Linked DNA regions of Homo sapiens: regions 1 and 3 are each linked to region 2. Evidence: promoter capture Hi-C in 16 types of primary human blood cells and fetal thymus (Javierre and others, 2016). All regions are on one chromosome and are shown on one strand. The core of a region is centred on a gene start or on the middle of the fragment in contact, and the rest is flanking DNA. Distances in the headings are between cores, read along the strand shown.

Evidence for each region. The method cuts DNA at HindIII sites, captures the fragments that hold promoters and counts their contacts. A CHiCAGO score of 5 or more calls a contact.
Region 1: a contact is called between a fragment that was not itself captured here and the fragment with the promoter of TRIB1 in region 2, in 5 of 17 cell types (neutrophils, fetal thymus, monocytes and 2 more). The highest score is 10.6, in neutrophils.
Region 3: a contact is called between a fragment that was not itself captured here and the fragment with the promoter of TRIB1 in region 2, in 1 of 17 cell types (M1 macrophages). The highest score is 5.6, in M1 macrophages.

What each region holds. Positions count from the first base shown.
Region 1 is chr8:125,094,894-125,099,327 of GRCh38, forward strand. The region is part of intron 1 of NSMCE2 (NSE2 SUMO ligase component of SMC5/6 complex); the gene reads left to right. Among named protein-coding and RNA genes, the nearest start is that of NSMCE2, 5.3 kb to the left of the region's middle. The HindIII fragment of the contact is 1,364 bases long and covers 1,613-2,976 here.
Region 2 is chr8:125,428,825-125,433,782 of GRCh38, forward strand. It overlaps TRIB1 (tribbles pseudokinase 1), which reads left to right and starts at 1,534. Exons shown (of 3, transcript NM_025195.4): 1 at 1,534-2,438; 2 at 4,493-4,785. The coding sequence starts at 2,079. RefSeq lists silencers at 707-1,326, 2,057-2,396 and enhancers at 1,687-1,736, 3,207-3,296. The HindIII fragment of the contact is 12,242 bases long and covers 1-4,751 here.
Region 3 is chr8:125,697,643-125,702,682 of GRCh38, forward strand. No RefSeq gene overlaps it. Among named protein-coding and RNA genes, the nearest start is that of LINC02964, 180 kb to the left of the region's middle. RefSeq lists an enhancer at 1,465-1,614. The HindIII fragment of the contact is 3,029 bases long and covers 2,252-5,040 here.

The DNA.
Region 1 (4,434 bases), core at 1,045-3,544, 330 kb before region 2:
CCCAGGCTGGAGTGCAGTGGCGTGATCATGGCTTACTGCAACCTCAACCTCCCGGCTCAAGCGATCCTACCACATCTCCTCCTGAGGAGCTGGGGCTGCAGGCCCGCACCACCACATCCAGCTAATTTTTTATTTTCTGTAAAGACAGAGTCTCACTTTATTGCCTGGGCTGGTCTCGAACTCCTGGGCTCAAGCCAACCTCCCACATTGGCCTCCCAAAGTGCTGGGATTATAGGCATGAGCCACCTTTCCAGCCAGGTTTTAGATAATCAGTACACATGTGCCTAGTGCCTATCATATTGGACAGTGCAGATTATAGAACGTTTTCATCACAGAAAGTTCTATTGGACAATGCTGCTCTGGACAATTTAGACTTACACTAGAATCAAGACTGAGTAGAAAACAGAATACTTCTGCTGATCATGGTGTCTCATGCCTATAATCCCAGCACTTGAGAGGCCGAGTTGGGAGGATCACTTGAGCTCAGGAGTTTGAGACCAGCTTGGGCAACACAGGGAGATGGTCGTCTCTACTAAAAATTAAAAAAGAAAAATTGGCCAAGTGGTGGCGCGCGCCTGTGGTCCCAGCTACTTGAGAGGCTAATGTGGGAGAATCACATGAGCCTGGGAGGTTGAGGCTGTAGCGAGCATGATCATGTCACTGCACTCCAGCCTGGGTGACAGAACAAGACCCTGTCTCAAAAACAAAAAGAAAACCGAGGCCAGGGGCAGTGGCTCACGCCTGTAATCCTAGCACTTTGGGAGGCCGAGGCCGGTGGATCACTTGAGGTCAGGAGTTTGAGACCAGCCTGGCAAACATAGTGAAACCCCGTCTCTACTAAAAATACAAAAATTAGCCTGGCATGTAGCTCCCAGCTACTGGGGAGGCTGAGGCAAGAGAATTGCATGAACCTGGGAGGCGTAGGTTGCAGTGAGCCAAGGTAGTGCCACTGCACTCCAGCCTGAGGGACAAGAGCAAAACTCCATCTCAAAAAAAAAAAAAAAAAAAGAAAAGAAAATTGAATACTGGAATTATATCATTTGGTCCTTGCAGGTTTGTGTTTTTTGATTAATACTTAGTACTGTAACAGGTAAACCCCACAAGTCTAAATGGCTTTGCCCAGTTGAAGTTTCTTTCATGCATGGAGCCTGATAGGTGAGTAGTTTTCCTCCAAGCAGTGATGTAGGGCCTTGAGCTCCTTCCATGCAGTAATTCTCTATCATCAGCATATAGCTTTACTAAGGTCCCTATGCTTGCCTGCATCAAGCTATCAAATGGGAAAATGTGGCTTTTTGCAGATTAGGCCTGGAAATGGCTCACATTTCATTGCCTTGGGTACAGTCATAGGCCACAGCTAACTTCAAGGAAGGCTGGAAAATGTGGAGCATATATAGGCATGTAACCGGGTTGAAGAGGAAATGGTTTTGGTGGGCACCTGTCCAGTATCTGTCACAAGTGTTTTGTCCTTACCTGCCCTGAGAAATAGTCTCAAGAAACAGTCCTAGAAGTTTGCTATTGCATTTACTATAAGGATATTTTTGAGGATTATTTTTTTCAGTGTAACCCATTATCTCATATATGATGATCCATACTTGCCTTGATTGCCATGGAAAGCTTTATTTTTTTCTTGAGTTTCTAGTGTTATTTGTTTTTTTTTTTTGGAGAAAATAACTGTCACTTTTTGTTTTGATTGTGAGGAAGCTCACTACCAAATGTGTATTACTAGTACTGTGTGGAATCCTTTTTTTTTTTTTTTTTTTTTCATACGGAGTCTTTTTGTGATCTCAGCTCACTGCAACTGCTGCCTCCAGGATTCAAGCGATTCTTCTGCCTCAGCCTCCCGAGTAGCTGGGACTGCAGGTGTGTACCACCATGCCCAGCTAATTTTTGTATTTTCAGTAGGGATGGGGCTTCACCATGTTGGCTGGGCTGGTCTTGAACTCCTGACCTCGAGTGATCAACTGCCTCGGCCTCCCAAAGTGCTGGGATTACAGGCGGGAGCCACCACACCTGGCCCTCTGTGTAGAATCCTAAAGTGTGCGTGACTCCATTATAACTTTCTCATATGCTTGGTTTGCCCGTAAATTTCTGTTTTTTGATCCTGGTTTTTCTGAATTTATGTTTTTCCATCTTTTTGTGTATGTTTGTATTTATATTGTGTAAAATGTCTCAACTTGTTTGGTATAATACAGTGAGATTGTAAACAAGCAGTCTCTTTCAATGCAAATGTTTGAAGATCATCATTGGCTTTTATTCCTGTTTGTATTTTTTCTTTTTTGATGTGGAACTGTAAAGTCCCAGAAAAGAACACAACAAGAACCCTTGTTTCATCACCCAGATTTTAACATCTTTAACATTTTGCCATATTTGTTTCAGGTCTTGATTTTTAAGGTAAAGTTTTGAAAATACATAGAGCTCAAATTTCCATGATGACCACTAGACCCAACTGGAGTGAATCTTTATCCTGTACTTAAGGCTGTCTACACTATATTCCCAAAGAATGAAATCCAGTTATCTTCCCATTCCTTTGTACCTGTATGCCAGGCAAAGGGAACTCATCTCATCGTTTACTACCTTATGATCTTTTTTCATCTCACTGCTTCCTTCATCTGAACAGCTCTCCCTGATAATTTAGACCTTTCCAAATCCTGAGTACCTTTTATGGTCCAGCTTAAGTGCCTTCATTTCCGTGAAGCCTATGTCTCCCCTGTTGTGCCTATAATCCTTTCCTTTCTTGAACATTGTAGCATAGTGGGTTTGTGTAATCGGTTTCTTTTTTCAACTTCATAGTACTTGGTTCATTCTTTTAATATGGAACTTGTTCTCTGCCAAGCCTGTTTTGAGGGGTTGTGGCAGAAAGGAGTTATGTTTATTCTGGAATATCAAATAGTTAAGGTTATATGAAATGTATGATTTAAGTCTTGGTGAAAAGTAGAATCTCTGATTTGAAAAGCGTGTTTGCATTATATTGTAGAAAGCTTTGGATACTGTGCTAATTATGTTGAATTTTATTATATAGGCAGGAGGGAGTTAGGACCAACCCTTCCTGCTTTTTTCTGTCTTTATTACTGGCATCTCTGTCTTATTAGCAAGCTCAAAGACCTTAAGGTGAAGCATGCCTGGGTTATTAAAGGACTAGCAATGGCCAGATAATGTAGAACAGTGGTCTTCAAAGTGTAATTCTTGGATCAGCAAAATCTACATTACCTGGAAATTTGTTAGAAATGCAGATTCTTAGGTCCCTTCCCAGACATACTGAATTAGAAATTCTGAGGGTGAGGTCCAGCAATCAGTGTTTTAATGGGCCCATCAGATGATTCAATACACTGACACTACATGTCTCCTAGATATATCAGAGTTAGAATTACATAGAGGACTTGTTAAAACGTAGATTGTTGGGGCCTGAGAATTTGCATTTCTAACAAGTTCATAGGTGATGCTGGTGACACTTGGTCAGGAACCATTTGGAGAACCACTATTGTCAGTTATTACGAAGCTCTTTGGCCATTACTCCCGGTGAGTCAGGAAGTCCTTAGGAGTTTTTGAGCAGAGGAGTCACATGATCTTACGTACATTTTCAAAGGTTTACTCTGGCTGCTGTGTTGAGAATAGGGTGGAAGAGGCAAGACTGAGAGCAGGGAGACCAGGTAGGAGACTGTTGGAGTAATTCAGGCAAGAGATGATGGTTTGAATCACGGTGTTATCAGCAGAATTGGTGAGAGTGGTTGGATTCTGGAGATAGTTTGACTACAGAGCTGGCAAAATTGATGTTGAGTTTGGTATAGGATATGAGGGGAGGAGGAGAAGGATCAAGTATGAACCAAGAGTTTTGGTTCAACAAATGGAAGGATGGAGTTGCTATTTAGTAAGATGGGGCAGGTTGTAAAAGGAGTAGGTTTGGGGGAGGGGTAGGGTGGGAGAGAAGGAATGTGGGCCTTCCATGTTGGACGTTTTAAGTTCTGGAGTGATCTTGCCAATGGTATTTAGATGGAATGGGTCTAGTTGGGAACACTAGGTGGATGGGAGAGGATGGAAAAGAGAGATCAGAGCACTGAGCCCTGGGCATACCACCTATACTACAGTTTTGGAGACATGTGCTGTTTTAGGTGCTGGAGATACATAGTATTACATTCATTCCTTCTTTCAGCAAGCCTTTGTTGAATGGCCACTAATGTGCCATGCGTTGTTTTAGGTGCTTGGAATACAGCAGTGAACAAAACAGAAAAAGTCAAAAAGTCTGTAAGTTTAAGGAACTTACAGTGTAATTGGGGACTAGACACTATAAACCTAATAAATACAAGAATGTCGTTTGGCAATACCTGCCTTGAGGAAAGATAAAGCAGAAGCAGAAGGGTGGGAATGCCTGGGGGTGGAGATTGGGAGGGCTTGCCGTTGTATATCAGATGGCCAGGGAAGGCCTTACTGATGAGGTGA
Region 2 (4,958 bases), core at 284-2,783:
TTAATTTTCACCTTCTAATTCCCAGCGTTTAGCTCTTGGTAGATGCTTAATTAGTATTTGTTGAATGAATGGAGAATTAATAAGGAAAATGATTTATTCCTGGGGCTCGACCTGGTTTTAGAAAATTAAGTATTTAGCAGAAGGACAAGTAAGGGCTCTCTAATAATAGTTATATTGTTGGGTGCCCAGGGACTCCAAACTGACCTGGTTCACTCAAGAAAGAAAAATGACAGATTCCAAGTTGTTTCACGCGCAACTTTGATGCTCTTCCAAATCACACGGAATGAATGCATGCGCACCACCAGGCAGGGCTGCCCGGGTGCAGGCGGTATCTCTGGCAGTGGCCAGAATGACTTCCACCAGCCTACCCACCTACCCAGGTTGGCACTCAGGCCCTAGACCCTGCGGCGCGTGTGGAGGCTGGGGAGGGAGTAGGAATCCGGCGGCAGCCACGTGGGCCCCTTCCGCCCGCTCCCCACATCCTTTGTTTCCCACCGGCCCTGGCTCAGGAAGCTCTTTCTGCGAGTCACCGCGAAGGGGCGGCCCGGGAGCCTGGAGAAGCTATTTCCGTGCAATCCGGGCGGGCGGCAGGCGCGGGGGGGTTGGGGGGGCGTGGAGGTGGAGGCAGCGCAGAAGGCCCAGTGTTTGCTTTTATTTCCTCCAACAGAAGGTTCTATTTGTGGAAGCGAACAGACGCTGGGGATTAGAGCTGGGAGGGGGCAGGAAAAGGGAAAAAAAAAAGCCACATCCACTACCACGCACAGGTCTTCCCCGGAACTACCGCGTGGGGGTGAATGACTGATTCTGGAATTCATCACCTCCCTATCCCCCTCCTTCCTCCGGCTGCAGCCGGGCCTCGGCGGCGCCCACGGCTCCAACCGGAGCTCCCCAGGCGCTGGGCGGTGGGGGGATCCCCGGGGCGAAAGGCGTCGCCGCGGGGCTGCAGCGAGCGGCGGGTGCAGAGAACCGTGGTGCGCGCTCCCGCCTCGCGCCCGCAGCCCATTGTGCTTACTGTGAATGAGGCGCGCGCACCAATCAGCGGTCGCTTCGCTCCCCGCAGCCCCGTCCCTCCCGCCCACTTCCCCGGGCCCTTACGTCACGGGAACTTTTCCTCCGCCCCCTCCTTCGGCTTCTCCGCTGAGCTGGGGGCCTGCGGGAGGGCGCGCGCGCCGCCTCCTGCCCAGCCCCTCCCAGCCCTGGGGGCGTGTGCGCGCGTCCAGGCCGGCCCGGGACGCACCACCTGCGCCCGAGCGCGCGCTGCCCGGAGCATCCCCAGCCCTAAGTCCACCCCCATTCCCCCCACCTCCTACTCCCTCTCCCCTTCCCCCAGTCTCCTCCCTCCGCTCCGGAGACTGCTCGCTGGGCGGCGGGGCCGGAGTCGTCGCAGCCACCTCATTGCACAACCCGGCTTCCCAACTGTTTACACAGCCCGGCCTGTGAGTGTGTGTGTATACAGCGTGAGTCACCAGGAGGCGGAGGAGGTGGAGGAAAAGGAGAAGGAGGAGTGCACTGGCCGGGATCGGTGCAGCGCTCACACTCACTCACAGTCACTCTCTCTGAGCGCGTCTCGCTCGCTCTCATACACGCCCGGAGCCCAGGAGCGCTCAGGATCCCGAGCGCCGCGAAAAAGTTCCCCCGGCTTTTGCTGGAGACTCATCGCTTTGGGAAGTGCATTTGCTTCGTGGCTCCGCCGAGCCTGCTGAATCCTGTCCTCGCGGCTCGGGACCCCGGGATCGCTGACCGCTGCCGCCGCCGCCTCTGCCTCCCGGACTATCGGCAGCCTCGGCAACAATAGTGGCGGCCGCCCCCAGCGAGGCTCCGGGAGCCCTTGCCTGCGGGGGTCCGGGGACTCGAGCCGGCCTCCGCCTCCCGGACGCACAGCCAGCGTGGTCCCCGCGTGCAACGCGAGCGCCGGGGAGTGGCTCCTGCTTTGCCCCTCGTGGGGGCCGAGCCAAGACCAGTCTGCAAACTCCATCCCGCCGGCTGGAAGAAGTCGCGGAGCCGGCACCAAACCCGCAGCGTCTTCCCGCGCGGATCCCGGGACTTAAAAAGCCGGGGCCACCCCGGCCCAGGACGGGATGCGGGTCGGTCCGGTGCGCTCTGCCATGAGCGGCGCCTCGCAGCCCCGCGGCCCGGCCCTGCTCTTCCCAGCCACCCGAGGCGTCCCGGCCAAACGCCTGCTGGACGCCGACGACGCGGCGGCTGTGGCGGCCAAGTGCCCGCGCCTCTCCGAGTGCTCCAGCCCCCCGGACTACCTCAGCCCCCCCGGCTCGCCCTGCAGCCCGCAGCCCCCGCCTGCCGCTCCGGGGGCCGGCGGAGGCTCCGGGAGCGCGCCGGGGCCCAGCCGCATCGCCGACTACCTGCTGCTGCCCCTAGCCGAGCGCGAGCATGTGTCCCGGGCGCTGTGCATCCACACTGGACGCGAGCTGCGCTGCAAGGTAGGCGCTCCCGGGCCAGGACCCGGCTGGGGTCGGGGGCGCGGGACGGGGTGGTAGGCAAAGGTGCTTGGGGTCCGGCCAACGCTTGGGCTGGGCACAGGGCGGATCAGTAGATTGGGTCAGATAAGACGCCATTTGACCAGGTTCACGTTTTTGTGGATCGAGGGGTTTCCCATGGAGTGATATAATGGGGGCGCCTAGAGGAAGTGCAGTGTTCAGTGGCTTTCTCTATCTGTTCCTTTCCTCAGCGCCCAGTGTAGCGCGTGGCGTTCCATATAAGTTGTGGAATTGAAATGGATTCCAGGGCCATGCCATTCCCCTTCTCTCATTCTCCTCGCTCTCCACCCCCCCTCCCCCGCCAATGTCCTGGAAGGACGCCCTTTAGTGGGTGCCTCCTAGGAGCTTGGAGCAGCTGGCAGCTCTCTTGCCGGGCTTGCACGGCACCCGGGCTCAGTTGTAGGTGGTAAGGGGGCTGGAAGACTGTGTCCGGCTCCTGCCTTGGGGATTCCGAATTGAATCCGCGCTGAGACTAGAACACGCCCTCCCAAGGGAGCAGTCCCAGAGTCATCCACCCGAGGCGGAGGAATCTGCTCGGAGTAGAAATGTTGAAAAGCCCACACCGGCCAGGAACCCTCGCTTCGATTCACTTTATTTTCCAGCCAGCGATTTTCCTTTGAACATAGGGATCCCATCCAGGAGGAGGAGACACAGCTCCTAGAAACAGGATCCGCCGGGTCCTCCTCCTGCGCGGGTAGACGCAGAACGTTCCCACAGTCTACTTTATGCGAGCGTGGCACCCCTGCTTGAGGCACCCCAGAGCACCCTCGGGCCGCTCCTTTTCACCCGAAAGATAGGATCACCCCCCAGTTAAGTCGCTTCTGGGTTTTCCGCAACTCACCTGACACTCCCAACACCCCGACCCCGTCCCGGGGCTCGCTGCTGCCACCTACTGCCCAACCCGAATGAAATTTCAGACGCATGATCAAGCCCAGTTTAATAGGGAGGAAAAAAAAACCTTTTCTTCTCCATGACTGGGGCTAAGAGCTGTTCTGGGACAAGCATGTATGTGTGTGTGGTGGGATGGGATGGGATGGGGTGGGAGGAGGGGGCAGCAGGGGATTTTTCTAGCTGGTGCCAGAGCAGCCAGGCCTCTTAGAGGTGGGGTGAGTCTGGCCATTGTGCAACCCCTTCCAGTTCCTCTGAGCAGATAATAGCTGAATCCAGATGGTGACAGCCCGTGTGTCACCGTTTCCAGTTGAGTCTAGGATATGAGTAACTGGACTGAACAAAAGGCCTTTAAAGAGACCAGCCAGCTTCCTAGAAGAGAGGAGATGCTACTCATTTCTAGGGGTGGGGTCGGGTGTGGGGGGATAAACAAACAAGTGGAAAACCCATTCGCAGGATTCCATACCCTTCCTGTGAGAATTGTAACTCAAGGCTGCTTACACTTGAGTCGGACTGTAGGCAGGTTGCTTAAGGCTGCATTGTCCCAGCCTCCCCCTCCAAGTCATCTGTTCCTTCTGATTAATGACAGCTCTGCATGTTCTCTGGCCCCTGCTTCCCCTTGGAGGCTGCAGAGTCACCACATTCTGTGCCCTTTCTGTGTTGAGCACTTTGGGTCTGCAGGAGGCACATGCACGTCCAGGGACTGCTTTTCAGCTCCTGGACAGGCCAGGGGCTTCCTTCTATCAGCCACTCAACTAGTGTGGCCTGCAAACAGGAAAGGGCCACAGAGGGTGGGGGGTTTGCTTAGCTCTCAGGAGCTGACAGAAGATGGGAACATGTACAGGAGACAGTTCTTTCAAATCATCTGTGTGAAAGCGGGTAACCCTTTGGGTATTTGCAAGTCTAGAGCTTTAGGTGTTACTGGTTTTAAAGGTGTCAGGGGCAGCTGGGGCTGCGTAAGGTAAGGTGGCAGAGGAAAGGAGTAGGTGAATGGAACTTACTCACATCCTAAGCCCACAGGTTGAGAACTTCTGTTCAGCTCCCTCAGGGGTTTGGGAGGCTGCCTTTGCTTTTCTAGCCCCCTAAACGGGCCCCCCTTCTCTCTACAGGTGTTTCCCATTAAACACTACCAGGACAAAATCAGGCCTTACATCCAGCTGCCATCGCACAGCAACATTACTGGCATTGTGGAAGTGATCCTTGGGGAAACCAAGGCCTATGTCTTCTTTGAGAAGGACTTTGGGGACATGCACTCCTATGTGCGAAGCCGGAAGAGGCTGCGGGAAGAGGAAGCCGCCCGGCTCTTCAAGCAGATTGTCTCCGCCGTCGCCCACTGCCACCAGTCAGCCATCGTGCTGGGGGACCTGAAGCTTAGGAAGTTCGTCTTCTCCACGGAGGAGAGGTGAGCGGCCGCCACAGCTTCTCCTGTGGCCTTTTGGAACCAAAGCGGAGGTGCAGGTCATGTAGTTAGGTGCTGTGTGTTGGTGCAAAACAAAGTCAAGGGCTCATATGTCCCAGATTTAGTATTTAGAGCTTCTGTTCCTGAGGAGTCACAGCCAAGGTTGGTTTATTCTG
Region 3 (5,040 bases), core at 2,516-5,015, 270 kb after region 2:
TTTATTTTTTTATTTTTATTTTTTTAGAGACAGGGTCTTATCCTGTTGCCCAGGCTGGAGTGCCGTGGTGCAATAATAGCTCACTGACTCACTGGACCTCAAACTCCTGGCCACAAGTGATCCTCCTGCCTCAGCCTCCCAAAGTGCTGGGATAACAGGCATGAGCCACTGGGATCAGCCAGAAATGGCTTTTTAAGAGCACATTGGTGGGTTCCACCCTCAGAGATTCTGATCCAGCTGGTCTGGGGTGGAGCCCAGGAATCTGCATTGTTCACAATGGTGCTCTCTATGGTAGTGGAAAGAGCATAGGTTTTGGGATGCCATCTTCTGTCACTGGTTCTTGGATCTTTGATAAATCACTTTTAGCTCCCCCAATGTCTGTACAATTGGTGTCATGATTCTGACCTTATCGTAGTCATGGTAAGGCTGAAATGAAATGATTTATGTTAGTGTCTGGTAGATGATTTATTTTAGATGCTCCTGTCCTTGAGCTGGGGGGCTGACAGTGATCATCTTTAGTCATATATGACTTGTGAAATGTGAAATGGGACTTTTTGGGTCAGGAACAGATACCGTCTCCTCCTAGCAGCCACAACACAGTGACAAGAGCATCACTGACTTGGCCTGAGCTTTGGCATGATTACTTCAAACCTCTGTTTCTCATCTAAGCAGTGTGGAAACCTGTGCTTCCATGAAGGGTTGTGGGGAAAGCCCTCATGTCAGGTTACACATGAGGAAGTGAGGTTTCATTCTGTCAGGCATTGTTTTTCTTGAACCGTCCACATAGGGGCTCAGCTGAGTTCCAGCCGGGCCAGCGGCTGAGTGTGTGCAGGTCCGAGAAGACGTGAATTGTGTCCTGGATTTCTGGTAGGCATGCTCCCAGGACGGCAGGGCATGGTGGGGAATGGCTCTCAGAAGCCCCAAAGCCTTGTCCAAATACTCTGTGGCAGGGGATGCTACAGTTCTGTGTAAAAGACAAGGCCAAGTCACCCGGGGAGGCTCTGTGATGATCCCATTTGACCCTTTGGGGACACGTAGCTGGGGGTTGAGATTCTCTCTTCACTGAGCAGAACAGGCAAGGAGGTAGCGGGCCTGCCTTTTGTGTTGTCTCCGAAAATGGAATCAATGCTGCTCTCCTCTCTTTTCCTTGCCCCACATCTCTCTCTTCCTGCTTTGAGCACTTTGATATAGTCTCACTTTCTATCTATAAAGCCTGTCTGTGTCCTTACTCACTGCAATGACCTGAAATGCAGAAGCTGCTTCTGTGAAAAAAACCACTGGGGAGCCCACAGCAGTTCCACGTCATCCTCTGAGTCACCCTGCAAGTGAAACCTGGGAAGGCTCATGGGGTTCACCTGGGCTGGCCACTCCCTCCGGGGCTACTCTGTGGTCTGTGGCACTGTGGCATCTGCTCTGGGTTTCCAACCAACATTTTCTTGCCTCTGCGCTCTGTGCTCTGGCTGGGATGTTTTCTCCTCTCTTCTCTTTCTGGATAACTCCCATTTTTCCATTAAGACCAAGCTTAAATGTCTTTCCATCTTTATTTTTTTTTTTTGACACAGAGTTTCACTCTTGTTGCCCAGTCTGGAGTGCAATGGCATGATCTTGGCTCACTGCAACCTCTGCTTCCTGGGTTCAAGCAATTCTCCTGCCTCAGCCTCCTGAGTAGCTGGGATTACAGGCACATGGGCACATGCCACCACACCTGGATAATTTTTGTATTTTTTAGTAGAGATGGTTGGTTTAGTAGACATGGTTCACCATGTTGGTCAGGCTGGTCTCGAACTCCTGACCTCCTGACCTCAGGTGATCCACCTGCTTAGCCTCCCAAAATGCTGAGATTACAGGCGTTAGCCACCGTGTCTGGTCAAGACCAAGCTTAAATGCTCCTCTAAGAAATCTTTCCTGATTTTCTGCTTGGTTCCTTACCAGAATGCCAGTGTCTTTCCACTGTCACATTTCCATAGCACCTGAAATGTGTTCTTTAGTGCATGGATGCCATGGTGTTGCCATTATGTGTCTCCCACCAGACTGTAAGCCACTTGAGAGCAGGACCGTATCTCAGCTCTCACGCAGCCTGAGCATCTGGCACATAGTAGGTGCTTTGGGAATATATTTTCCATGAATTATTCATGATATGGCTTGACTTCTGTCATGGATCCTACTCTGCACATAGGTTTCATGCCCACTGGGTTGCTGGTCCTTGGATTCCAGCTGAGGGAAGATTCTGTTCTGTAATAACCTTAAAGGAAGCTTGCACAGTCTCTCCTATAATGTTGTTTTCACTGGGAGTTGATGTTGTCCATCCCATTCTATTGAATAATATCCCTTGTTAGAAAGGGCATTTTGGCATGCCATTAGTAATGATAGCAAACCATATTTATGTGGGTTAGAATTAGGTCCAGTTGTGAGTGATAGAAAACTCAAAATGACAGTGGCTTAAATAGCTATTTATTTATCTCTCATGTAAATATCCACAGTTAATCTAATCCTGCCATGAAGGTTCTGCTCCACAAAGTTCTCAGGGACCTGCACCATTAGACCTTCTACTCCACTCTGCCCAGGGCTTAGCCACTGTACTCATGACCCAAGATAGAGCTTCAGGAGTGACATTCACTTTCCAAACACAGATGGAGGAAGGTGGGAAGAAGGGGGCCCAATGAGTGGGCCAGCTGTCTGTCAAAAAGTTTCCCAGAAGCAAAGGGAATCTTCCACATGATACTCTGTTTACATCCCATTGGCAGAACTTAAGTCATATGACCACTCCTGATCTGCAAGAAAGTCTGGGAAATGTAGTCTTTATTCTGAACAGCCATGTTTCTAGCTGTGGAGGAAGGGGAATATGAAATTGAAGAATAATAGCAGTCTTTGCTACAATATTTGCTTAGCACTTTACAAGTCCTTTTTTATATTCGTTATCTGGGCTGATACTCATATGGAAGACAGGGTTAGTAGCTTGTTTAAGGACACACAGGGTAAAAGCAGAGTCAGAAGAACAGAGAGGTGTTTTGATGCTGCACCCTCACTGCTATACTGTGCTACTTCTCACACTGAGCTGAAATTGGTTTCTTTCCAACTACCCATCGGTCCCAGTTGTGTCAGCTTGAGAGAAATGAAAGGAGTACAGTCTTTCTGCTGGGTAGTAAGTGACTCAGACACAAGGCCGTGGTGCATGCTGAATATCCTGCCCTCCACTGCCCCCAGCAGGTTGCCTGGATCGCAAGACTACTCAATAAATAGTGAAATTGAAAAATCATTGTGGAATCTCAATTCTTTTTGTCTAATAATGATAGCAGTGTATATTCCTATAGCATGTTACAGTAAGTGTTTACATCTCTGGTTTCCATTAGCTTCAGGGTTTATGGAGAAACTTATGGTTCATAAAGCCATACTGTTGAAGGTCTTTCCTTGGCAAACGCAAAGGGAATACTGAATGCAGCACTTTCCCGTGTGATTCCCCTTTAATCATCACTGAACATTTCAGAGTGTCTCAGTGCATTTAGTGTTACTACCAAGACATACCTGAGGCTGGGTAACATATAAAGAAAAGAGGTTTATGTAGCTCATGATTCTGCTGGCTGGAAGGTTCAAGATTGGGCATCTTGTGAGGGCCTCAGGCTGCTTCCCCTTATGGTGGGAGGTGAATAGGAGTCTGTGTATGCAGAGATCACATGGTGACAGAGGAAGTGATGGGGGGAAGGGAGGTGCCCGGCTCTTTTTAACAACTAGCCACTGCAGGAATGAGAACTCACTCATCCTCGAGGGAGGGCATTAATCTATTCATGAGGCATCTGCTCTCATGACCCAAACACCTCTCCTTAGGCCACATCTTCAACATTGGGGATCAAATTTTAGCATGAGGTTTGGTGGGACAGACATCCAAACTATAGTATAGAGCTTGGGATTATTATCCTCATTTTAGAGATGAGACATCTGAAATTTATTATTTATTTATTATTATTGTTATTTTTTAAGACAGAGTCTCACTCTGTCACCCAGGCTGGAGTGCAGTGGCATGATCTTAGCTCACTGCAGCGTCCACCTCCTGGGTTCAAGTGATTCTCCTGCCTCAGCCTCCCGAGTAGCTGGGATTACAGGCACATGCCACCACACCCAGTTAATTTTTGTATTTTTAGTAGAGACAGAGTTTCGTCATGTTGGCCAGGCTGGTCTTGAACTCCTGACCTTAGATAATCCACCTGCCTTGGCCTCCCAAAGTGCTAGGATTAGAAGTGTGAGTCACCGTGCCCAGTCAAAAACTGAAGTTTAAAGAGGCTTAATAACTTTCTCTAAAGGGTGGAGTGCCCAACCCTACCTGCCTGACTCTGAATGGCTCTGGTCTTGGGATTCCTCTGTTCTTAATCACTCCTTCGACATCAATGAATTATCAATGATGCGTACAAAACGCTGTTTGGGAGACACCAAGAAGGATTAGCAATGTGATGCCTACTATTTTTGGAGTTGCAGGAAAAGCTAATGGCAGGACCAGCCAGTACTAGGGAGTCAGAAGAGGGTGGCTGCCTGTAGCCAGGAGTCGAGTAGTTCCTCTCCCCAGTGAAGAAGGGGGAGGTGTGGAAGGTGCAAAAGTTAATACAGGAAGAATAGAGGAAGGGCCCTGTGAACTTTCAATACCCCTGTACCTTATTTTGCTGAGCTTATTATATAATACCAGAGCAGAATAGAAGGTAGACCCACGGGAATTCAAATCTTGGCTGTGCCACCCACTTCCTGGGCAAGTCACTTCCTCTCTCTGTGTCCATTTCCAAATCTTTGAAATTCAGTTAGAAACATCACTTTAAAAACAGGGTTGTTGTGAAGATTTTATGAGATAATGTATAAAATAAGTTCTTACCAAGTATCAGCTATGATATTTATGATATTTTAGAGTTATTAATTATACTGTGAGGATTAAGGAACTTGGCAGAGGAATACAGTAGGTGCTTAAATGGTATCCTAAAATATTATTTAAAAATAAATGACAGTAATGGGAATACCGCAATTACTTTTGCACCAACGTAATAATAGTAGGATATTTAAAGT